2 separate regions of the Homo sapiens genome follow, and region 1 is linked to region 2. The links are contacts of gene promoters, found by promoter capture Hi-C in human tissues and cell types (Jung and others, 2019). All regions are on one chromosome and are shown on one strand. Each heading gives the region's core, a stretch centred on a gene start or on the middle of the fragment in contact. The rest is flanking DNA. Distances are from core to core; before and after follow the strand shown.

Region 1 (4,411 bases), core at 838-3,337, 130 kb after region 2:
ATTACTTCTCACAGAGATAGGTGACTCTATATAAAGGTAAGAGGTGTTCCTGATATTAATTCCAGAATTAAATAGATTGAGCTGTTGCTATGGCCTGGATATTTATGTTCCCTCCAAAATTCATATGTTGAAATCCTAACCCCCAACTTGATGGTATTAGGAGATAGAGCATTTAGGAGATGATAATTAGGTCATGAGGGAGAAGCCGTCTATGAATGGGATTAATGCTCTTATAAAACAATCAGAGAGAACTGCCTTGCCCCTTCCACCGTGTGAAGATACAAAGAAGTTGGCAGTCTTCAACCAGGAAGCTGGCCCTCATCAGATACTGGGTCTGCCAGTGCCTTGGTTGTTTTCCAGACTCCAGAACTATAATAAATACACTTCTGTTATTGATAACCCACTCAATTTATGGTACTTCTGTTACAGCAGCCCAAATGGGCTAAGACATTCACCTAGAGACAGACGGTGCTAGACCACTGGAGTCCTAATCACGCTTAGGAGAGAAGTAGAGCAGAATAGAAGCTACCTGATGGGAAGGAAAGGAGGTGCTGATTAAGCATGCCTAATTCCATATCCAAGCCCATTGATCAGACAAGAAAACCTCCCTCTACCTGCCTAATGGACAGAGGGAGGTCAGAAACTTTTTCCTAGTGGTGTTCCCGCCACATGGACGTCAACACTGAGAGCTGAGACTTGGAGGTGGGGGTGTCATTCTCCACATTCTCTAACCCCACTGGTGATTAATGCCAGGGAAATAGTAAAGATATCTGTCTTGCCATCAAATTGTCAATGGCTAGATTATTGTCTGGCAATTAATAATCCCTTAATAGTCATTTGTTGAACAAGTTGAGTAGATCGATTCTTACTTTTATGGAAATGTATACATTTAGAAAACTTAAATTCAAATTCTGGTTTCGATACTAACTAGCAGTGTTACTTTGGGCAAGTAATTTAACGTCTCTAGTCCTCAATCACTTGTCTGTCATATGGCATGATAGGCCTTTATCTACAATTAATTCTGGGATGCATTCCAATTTCACAATTCTGTTACTCGTCTTCACATTAGTGGTTTGGATAATCTATGGCTGCTTTTGTAATCACAAAGTCTGTATCATAAACAAATGCTAAAATAAGTATGCTTGGTGGGTAGCCAGAAACGTACGGGCTGATTCTACGCATAGGGTTTTCCTTCATTTTCTATTCTCTTAGTATTTTATTTTTCATGAGAATAGTACAAGAGGTTAGAAAAGAGGACTTATTATCCTACATCCTGCCTTCCTAGGTGCCTTCTTTGACCTCTAGCATGAGCATTCAATGTCCAGCACAGTATTTTGGCACATCTATCAAATAATCAACATGAAATCCTTTACTTAAGTGTAATTTCTAAAGAAGTGGTTATAGGAGGCAGTGCTGATGAGCAGAAATAGCATTTTAAAAGATAGAAAACATCTGAGCTCTCCCCAAACCTTGTATTTCTATGTGGAAACTTATGGAAGTCATATTAACCCTCAGATACTCAGGTTTTACCATCATAAAATAGGAGGCTATAGTACCACTCTGTATTCTTTCACTTCCAACATTCAACAATTCAGACTAATGCACTGAAGAATACAGTATATTTTTATGGCTAAAATTTGCCCCCAGGTATGGCAGACTTCCACAGTTACTACTTGAGACTATCACTACGGCAGTTACTACTGTTACTACCTGAGACTGTCATTAGGAGACTGAACGAAGGAGGAAGAACATAGAAATGAAAGCTTCAGACAAAAGAAACTATTTTAAAGGAAGGGGCCAGGGGAAGAAGAAAAGGGCTCCCTTCTCCTAATGAGCAAAGGCAGCCGTGCTGAGCTTCTACAGCCCTTCGTATTTATTGAGTAGAAAGAGCAGGGAGGAGGAGGTAACAATTGGTCAGCTGCTTCATTGATCACAGGTTCACTTTATTGCTAACAGGCTTCAGATGTGCCTAATCACAAGAAACACTTGTGCCTGGGTCGTGGCAGCCCTTAGCATTCCTTCTGGGTGGCAGACCCAGTTTGTCAGTTTGCCAACATCCTGCTTTCATGAGAAACAGTTTGCTGTTTACTCATATGGCCTTCAGTGGTATACTGAGTTGATCATGACCCTCATTCGTTCGGCCTTCAACACCCAGGAATACACATTTTAAGACCTGAGATTTTGGTTTTCCTGATCTGGTAGGTAGATATAAATAAAAGACTGAAAGCACCACTATTGTTCAATATTTCTGGGAGTTAAATTTATTATTTTTTTTAATTTTAATTTTAAATTTTTGTAGCTACATGGTGTATATATTTATGGAGTACATGAAATGTTTTGATACAGGCATGCAATTCATAATAACCACATCATGGAGAATAGGATATCCATCCCTTTACATGTAATCTTATTATACTCTTTTAGTTATTTTAAAATATACAATTAAATTATTATTGACTACTGTCACCTGTTTTGCTATCAAATAGCAGGTCTTATTCATGCTTACTAATTATAACTATTACTAACTATAATGGGAGTTAAATTTATAGCGTCCATTTTAAGGTCAATTTGACATCAGTTGCTAAAATTTAGAATATGTAAACCTTGTGGGTTAGCTCTCCCACATCTAGGAGCGGTATAGAATAGTAAAGCATAAAGTCTCCAGGCAGAAGAGCCTGAGTTTGAATTGTAGGCCTACAAGCATGGGGCCTGAGATGCTACTTTCAGACTCTACATGTCAGTTTCCTCGTCTGTAAAATAGGGATTGCAATAAAACTCCATCAAGTGATGGTAAGGGCTAAATGAGACAATACGTATATTTTAAAGAGCTTAGAAATGTACCAGGAATAATGTAGCTACTTAGTGAAAGATAGCTATTACCACAGCTACTGTTATTACGGATTGAGCATCCCTCATCCAAAGTGCTTGGGACCAAAGGCATTCTGGATTTCAGATTTGTTCGGATCATGGAATATTTGCATTACAATGGTTCAGCATCCCAAATTTGAAAATCCCAAATCTGAAATGTTCCAAGGAGCATTTCCTTCTAATATTATGTCACTGCTGAGAAAGTTTTGGGATAAGTGCAGCAAACCACCATGGCACACGTTTACCTATGTAAGAAACCTGCACATTCTGCCCAAGTATCCCAGGACCTAAAATAAAATACAATTTTTTAAAAAAGTTTTGGATTTTGAAACATTTTGAATTTTGGATTTTCAGATTAAGGATACTCAATCTATATTATTATTATAGATAATGGTGAGAACCTGTTCACAGAATACATGTTTAAGGATTTTCATTTAACAAGGCTTTTACTGAAAATACAGAAAATAATCAGCTAAATTACTACCAGTAGTGGAATGTAAGGTAGGAAGATGACAGAAGATGAATAATTAATACGTGATACTAACGGTCTCAAAGCCAGCCATGGGGACATAACTGGAAATAGAAAGAAATGGAGACGCCACTGAGAAATTTATGGAGAAGTTTTAGGAACACCTGGAGAATAAGAAGGTGATTCTGAGCATGGGTAGAAAAATGACAACTTGGAGTAAAAGGTTTGTTGCCAAAAATAGGGAGAGAGAAAGGTCAGGGACGTTGATTTATTTTTGCACTGCTTTTATTGCTAAATGTTCTGAAAGGATCATTTCCTCCCCCATGACAAAAAATGCTCCATCAGCACCAGCCCAGGGTCTCTGTGGAAATCAGGATGGAAGGTGGATCAATCAAATTCAGCAAGAGAGGGGTTTGCCACTGCAAGTCTCAATTGATTGTGGGAAGAGGTCACATTTTGTGGAGGGCTTGAGAGACAGAGTCTTTAAAAAAATGCTTGTTACATTTTCAAATTATGAATTGAAATTCTAGCACCATTATTATAAAATATTAAACCTCATTTTAATATGAAATAGTAAAATGTTGCCCAGCTCAACATTGGCAATGTTCTCTCTGTGGATACCATGCCTGAGAGGTACAATCATGTGCTGCTTGGAGGAGAAGCCTAGAGACCATGGCAAGCTGACCCAGGCATCAGGGAACTATGCCACAGTTATCTCCCACAATCCTGAGACCAAGAAGAGCCGTGTAAAGCTACCCTCTGGCTCCAAGAAGGTTACCTCCTCAGCCAACAGAGCTGTGGTTGGTGTGGTGGCTGGAGGTGGCCAAATTGACAAACCCATCCTGAAGGCTGGCTGGGCATACCACAGATATAAGGCAAAGAGGAACTGCTGGCCACAAGTACGGGGTGGGGTGTGAACATGAACCCTGTGGAGCATCATTTCGGAGGGAGGTGGCAGCCACCAGCACATCGGCAAGCCCTCCACCATCTGCAGAGATGCCTCTGCTGGCCAAAGTGGGTCTCATTGCTGCCCGCCAGACGGGATAGTCTAGGGAACCAAGACCGGGCAGGAGA
Region 2 (4,588 bases), core at 1,239-3,738:
TTTCATTTGTAAGCATTTGATTTTAACTTATTTAACCTTAGGTATGAACCTAATAATTTATACCTAATCATTGGATAAAAGATTTCTTTTTAAAAGTACATAAGTGATTAGAATAGAAGAGAAAATGGAATAAAAGTGCCCAATCTCGGCCGGGTGTGGGGCTCATGCCTGTAATCTCAGCACTTTGGGAGGCCGAGGCGAGCGGATCACCTGAGGTCAGGAGTTGGAGACCACTCTGGCCAACATGGCAAAACCCCGTCTCTACTAAAAGTACAAAAAAATTAGCCAGGCGTGGTGGTGGGCACCTGTAATCCCGGCTACTAGGGAGACTGAAGCATGAAACTCGCTTGAACCCAGGAGGCAGAGGTTGCAGTGAGCAGAGATTGCGCCACTGCACTCCAGCCTGGGTGACAGAGCAAGACTCTGTCCCAAAAAAAAAAAAAAAAAAAAAAAAAAAAAGTGCCCTATCTCAAGACTGTGTTAGTAGTTTGAATGAACATGTTTGTCATTACCACACCATATTAAATCACTTTGCATTGTAACTGAGCTAAATTTCCAATAATTCCTTGAATACACAAAGACTTTCAGCCCCTTCTGCTTTGCTTATTGCGTGTAATCTTCCCAGACTTCTCCCCTCCGATATTTCTGTCTTTGCAAGTCAAAAATTTGCAGCTCCTTCAAGATATCGTACAATAAGTTTCCCTGTACATTCCTTATCATCTTTGTGTCTCCATATTTTTACATTTAACATCATTTACATGTATAATGGATCTCTTTCTCTAACAGCTGTTGTCTAAAGGAATAATGCATGGGAATAGTTATTGAACGTTGTTTGAGCTCTTTTTTTCTTCTCAACTTTAGGTTCCTTATTGAAATCTATTTATCTTCACACCTGTTTCTGGAACTGCTTTGCCTGAGAAAACAAAGAATGCTACCACAAAAAAGAGAAATAACATTTCCCTAATTTTATGCTCAGATGTGAATTAAATTATCACTTCTGATGATATCAAAAGGTTATTATCTTCAGCTTTACTTAGTGTGAAACATGAATACAAACCAAGGTGGAATATCAATCCTCCATTCAAGTTTCATGGTATCCCTTATTACACATATGTAGATAACTGAATCATATTGAATTCTCATCAATGAGATGCAGGCATTTGATCATGATTACCAACAAATATTGGGTGACTTCAAAAGTTACTTCAAATCACTTTTGTTTCTCTTCAATTCCATTTTTCTTTTATGTATATCTATAACCATATTGTTCTAAATAGTATTTTTTTCTCTGCAGATTCCTGATATAACTATCAACTAGTTTGCTACCTTATGCTTGTTGGCATAGACACAAGAATCCACATTTTATAAGGGGATCAAGCTAATTCCTGATTCTGATATTTTAATGAATAAAAGTCTGTAAATTTAGTAGACTTCCACTACCTGTAGTTTGAATAACAAAAATCTCTGAGGCCCCCAAAAGTTTGTCTGAATCGCAAACTTCATATGATTTTGAAACCTATTCCTATATATATACACCAATTGTTTCATAATAATTGCCTAATACATCACAACCAAAACCCTAGCAATATAAAACCACCACAAACATAGCTGAATATGAGACCAATGGATTTATTGGATTAAAATGATTTGACTTTTTATACAATTGTGGAAGAAAATCGAATAATATAAATTCTACTTTTAATGTGTATTTCAAGATTTATTTTGAGCTAGTTCTCCAATTACAGTTTTTCAGATGAAGCCTGCCAGCCAGTATTTGGGGACAAAGACAAACTGAGAACTTGATAATTATAGAATAAGAGGCTAATTCTTTCTGTACATGATGAAGACAATAAAGGTTATGAGTAGAGGCATTGAAGGCATTAGCCAACAAAATCAGCAATTTAACAAGATGATCAATAGTAGAAGCCTGATCCACAAGTTGGTCTGTAGCAAGAAGACTGGCAGCTCCTAGAAGCCAAGTAGGTTGGGCGGCAGAATCCAACGCCATAGCCCAGGGAAGGGAAGCCACAGCCTCCATAACCCAGGGATCTGAAGCCACTGGACCCACAGCCCACTGAGTAGCAGCTCCTCGATCCATAGCCCAGGGAGCGGCAGCTGCTGGATCCAAAGCCTAGAGACCCAGAGTAAGTTGTCTGGCAGGGACTGCAGAGCAAGGAGGTTCTGGGACGGTAGCAGGAGGTCTGGCAGGGGCTGGACTCCACATAGGATGTCTGGCAGCTGGTGGGCTCCCAGCAGGTCTGCTGACAGCCCCTATAGAGAGAGGAACCCAGCTGGCACGTGCTGGGAGAGCAGAGGTCAGTGCTGTAGACCTGGTTGCTGGGGTAGGAAAAGCCACAGGAGGAGGCTGGGTAGTGCAGGTAGCCACCACAGGAGCGGGAGGAGAAGTTTCCAGAGCAGCAGTTGTAGGACATGTTGATGGGAGATGTGAGTTCAGCTGAGTTACACTGAGAAGATTCTGAGTTTGCATGCCACATCTGGACAGGACCATTTATATACGTTCAGCCGTGGGTGTGGCACCTTACAGGGTCATCCTTCACACATTTAAGCTCCCACATTTCATATAAGCAACTTAGTAATCTTCTTTGTCATTGCAGTTAACTAACACCCTTCATCTTATATTTATGGAAGAACTCCTTTTGTTTTTACAGCTCTGCGTCAATGAAATGCATTTATGTTACAAATGCTATGACAGTATGTGATTAGTCCCTACTCCATTATGTCCAGGAAAACCCCTCTTATTTTCTCTGCCCATGATTTATACATCTGCTCCTGTTTTGGCTGGGAAATTCTTTCTGTCTTGGGTGGGGATAGCAATGTATTCATCTTTTTTTGTCAGTGGCCTAGAGGCAGAAATCTTATTGTTCACACTCTCCAAAATAGTTTGCCATCTGTTATTTACTATAATCAGTGCTTGTAAGTCCAGTCTCGAGGGCCTATATAAAAGTAAGCCAAAGGAATTGAGAGATAACTAGACATAGATATCATCTTGAACAAATTTTTTTAAAAAATTAGTATTTAGAAAAAAGAAATCAAAACAAAAGCAAAAAATAAATAAATACAAATACAACAATAAGGACCCATGTGAAAAAAAGGAAAGTAGAAGACACTGCTGAGATGAGGTAGGAAACAAGTCAGAGTAGTCACAATAGCAGAAGGATGCTCAGGACTCCATCCTAAAAGCAAATCAAAATGCTTTCAAATAAACTTATTTGATGACTTTTGTATGATGCATTCATATTTGTAAGTGTTCTGGAGCCTACCTGTCTACAACACCTCTAAACCCCCACCTCAAAATGTTGACTGCCTTCTGAGCATTTGCGGGGTAACACCAGCTTCTATGTTTTTCGTGACTCTGTCCCAGCCCTCTTTAAAGAGGTGGATTTAGGTTTTGTGGTGTTGAAAAGTATAATTTGGAGATCCTCATTAAAAACACAATATTAGGAATATAATAATAGATATAAACATGGATATTAACTTAGAATAAAAACTTCCATAGTTAACAAAACCCAAGATGTCACAAAATCAAGACAATAATATACCTTTATCATCATCCTCATCTATAATCTTTTTCTACATTTTTTGGTTGCATAGTCGGTCTTTGATCATCTCTACACATGACAATGGTTTTGTCCACATGATTTTCTGTAGAACAAATGGAAGTAAAACTTGGTGTTTCTTTTAGAAATAGTACATCAAAAATACTTGAATTATTTTTTATGACACAGAAAAGTTTTTTTTTTTTAACATTGCCATTTGTTGTGAGCAACGCCACAGCTGTAACACCCTCTGTCATTTCATTTCAGCAGTGCTTCAAGCCTGAGATTGTGCGCCTCTTGTCCAGATGTCCCTGGTTCACCTCCCACCTGTATCTGTTGGCAATTTGCATGAGGATCGGCTGCAAACAGCTGTGGATCCAGGGTTGTAGGGGTCTTCTAGTTTGTGGCAGAGCAGTATCCTCGTTCCAATCCTTCTTCTTAAAAGGAAAACTATGGGCCGGGGGCTGTGGCTCACGCCTGTAATCCCAACACTTTGGGAGGCCGAGGCGGGCGGATCACAATGTCAGGAGATAGAGACCATCCTGGCTAACACGGTGAAACCCTGTCTTTACTAAAAATACAAAAAATTAGCTGGATGTGGTGGCGGGCGCCTGTAGTCCCAGCTACTCGGGAGGCTGAGGCTGGAGAATGGCGTGAACCCCGGAGACAGAGCTTGCAGTGAGCCGAGATGGCGCCACTGCACTCCAGCCTGGGCGACAGAGTGAGACTCTGTTTCAAAAAAAAAAAAAAAAAAAAAAAAGGAAAACTTTCTAAGGTTTATAAGGTTGACCCTGGGGACTAGATATATTAGAAGTAGTGCAGGCAGCTCTCCGGATACACCCACAGCCTGAGGATGCCACGAGGGACTCCTAGGCCACAGCAGCATAGCTGGAGCAGCGGGTTCCTCCCAGTCTCCCCAGGAGTGATAACAGAGCTTTGGAAAATGTCAGGCAAGAGAAGTACCCTCAAGCTTACCCTTCATTAGGTTACATCTGTCTCTGCCTCTGCCTAACATGCCCTGCCCAAGATGT

The links. Contacts are between HindIII fragments. The study calls those that stand out against the background at their distance.
Region 1: a fragment that was not itself captured here is called in contact with the fragment with the promoter of KRTAP13-1 in region 2 in 1 of the 25 tissues and cell types used here (aorta).

What each region holds. Positions count from the first base shown.
Region 1 is chr21:30,263,391-30,267,801 of GRCh38, reverse strand. It overlaps the pseudogene RPL8P2. Among named protein-coding and RNA genes, the nearest start is that of KRTAP24-1, 17 kb to the left of the region's middle. The HindIII fragment of the contact is 4,144 bases long and covers 16-4,159 here.
Region 2 is chr21:30,393,931-30,398,518 of GRCh38, reverse strand. It overlaps KRTAP13-1 (keratin associated protein 13-1), which reads right to left and starts at 2,488. Exons shown (of 1, transcript NM_181599.3): 1 at 1,697-2,488. The coding sequence starts at 2,432. The coding sequence ends at 1,914. The region is part of intron 3 of LOC105372772 (a long non-coding RNA gene); the gene reads left to right. RefSeq lists an enhancer at 2,131-2,632. The HindIII fragment of the contact is 9,904 bases long and covers 1-4,588 here.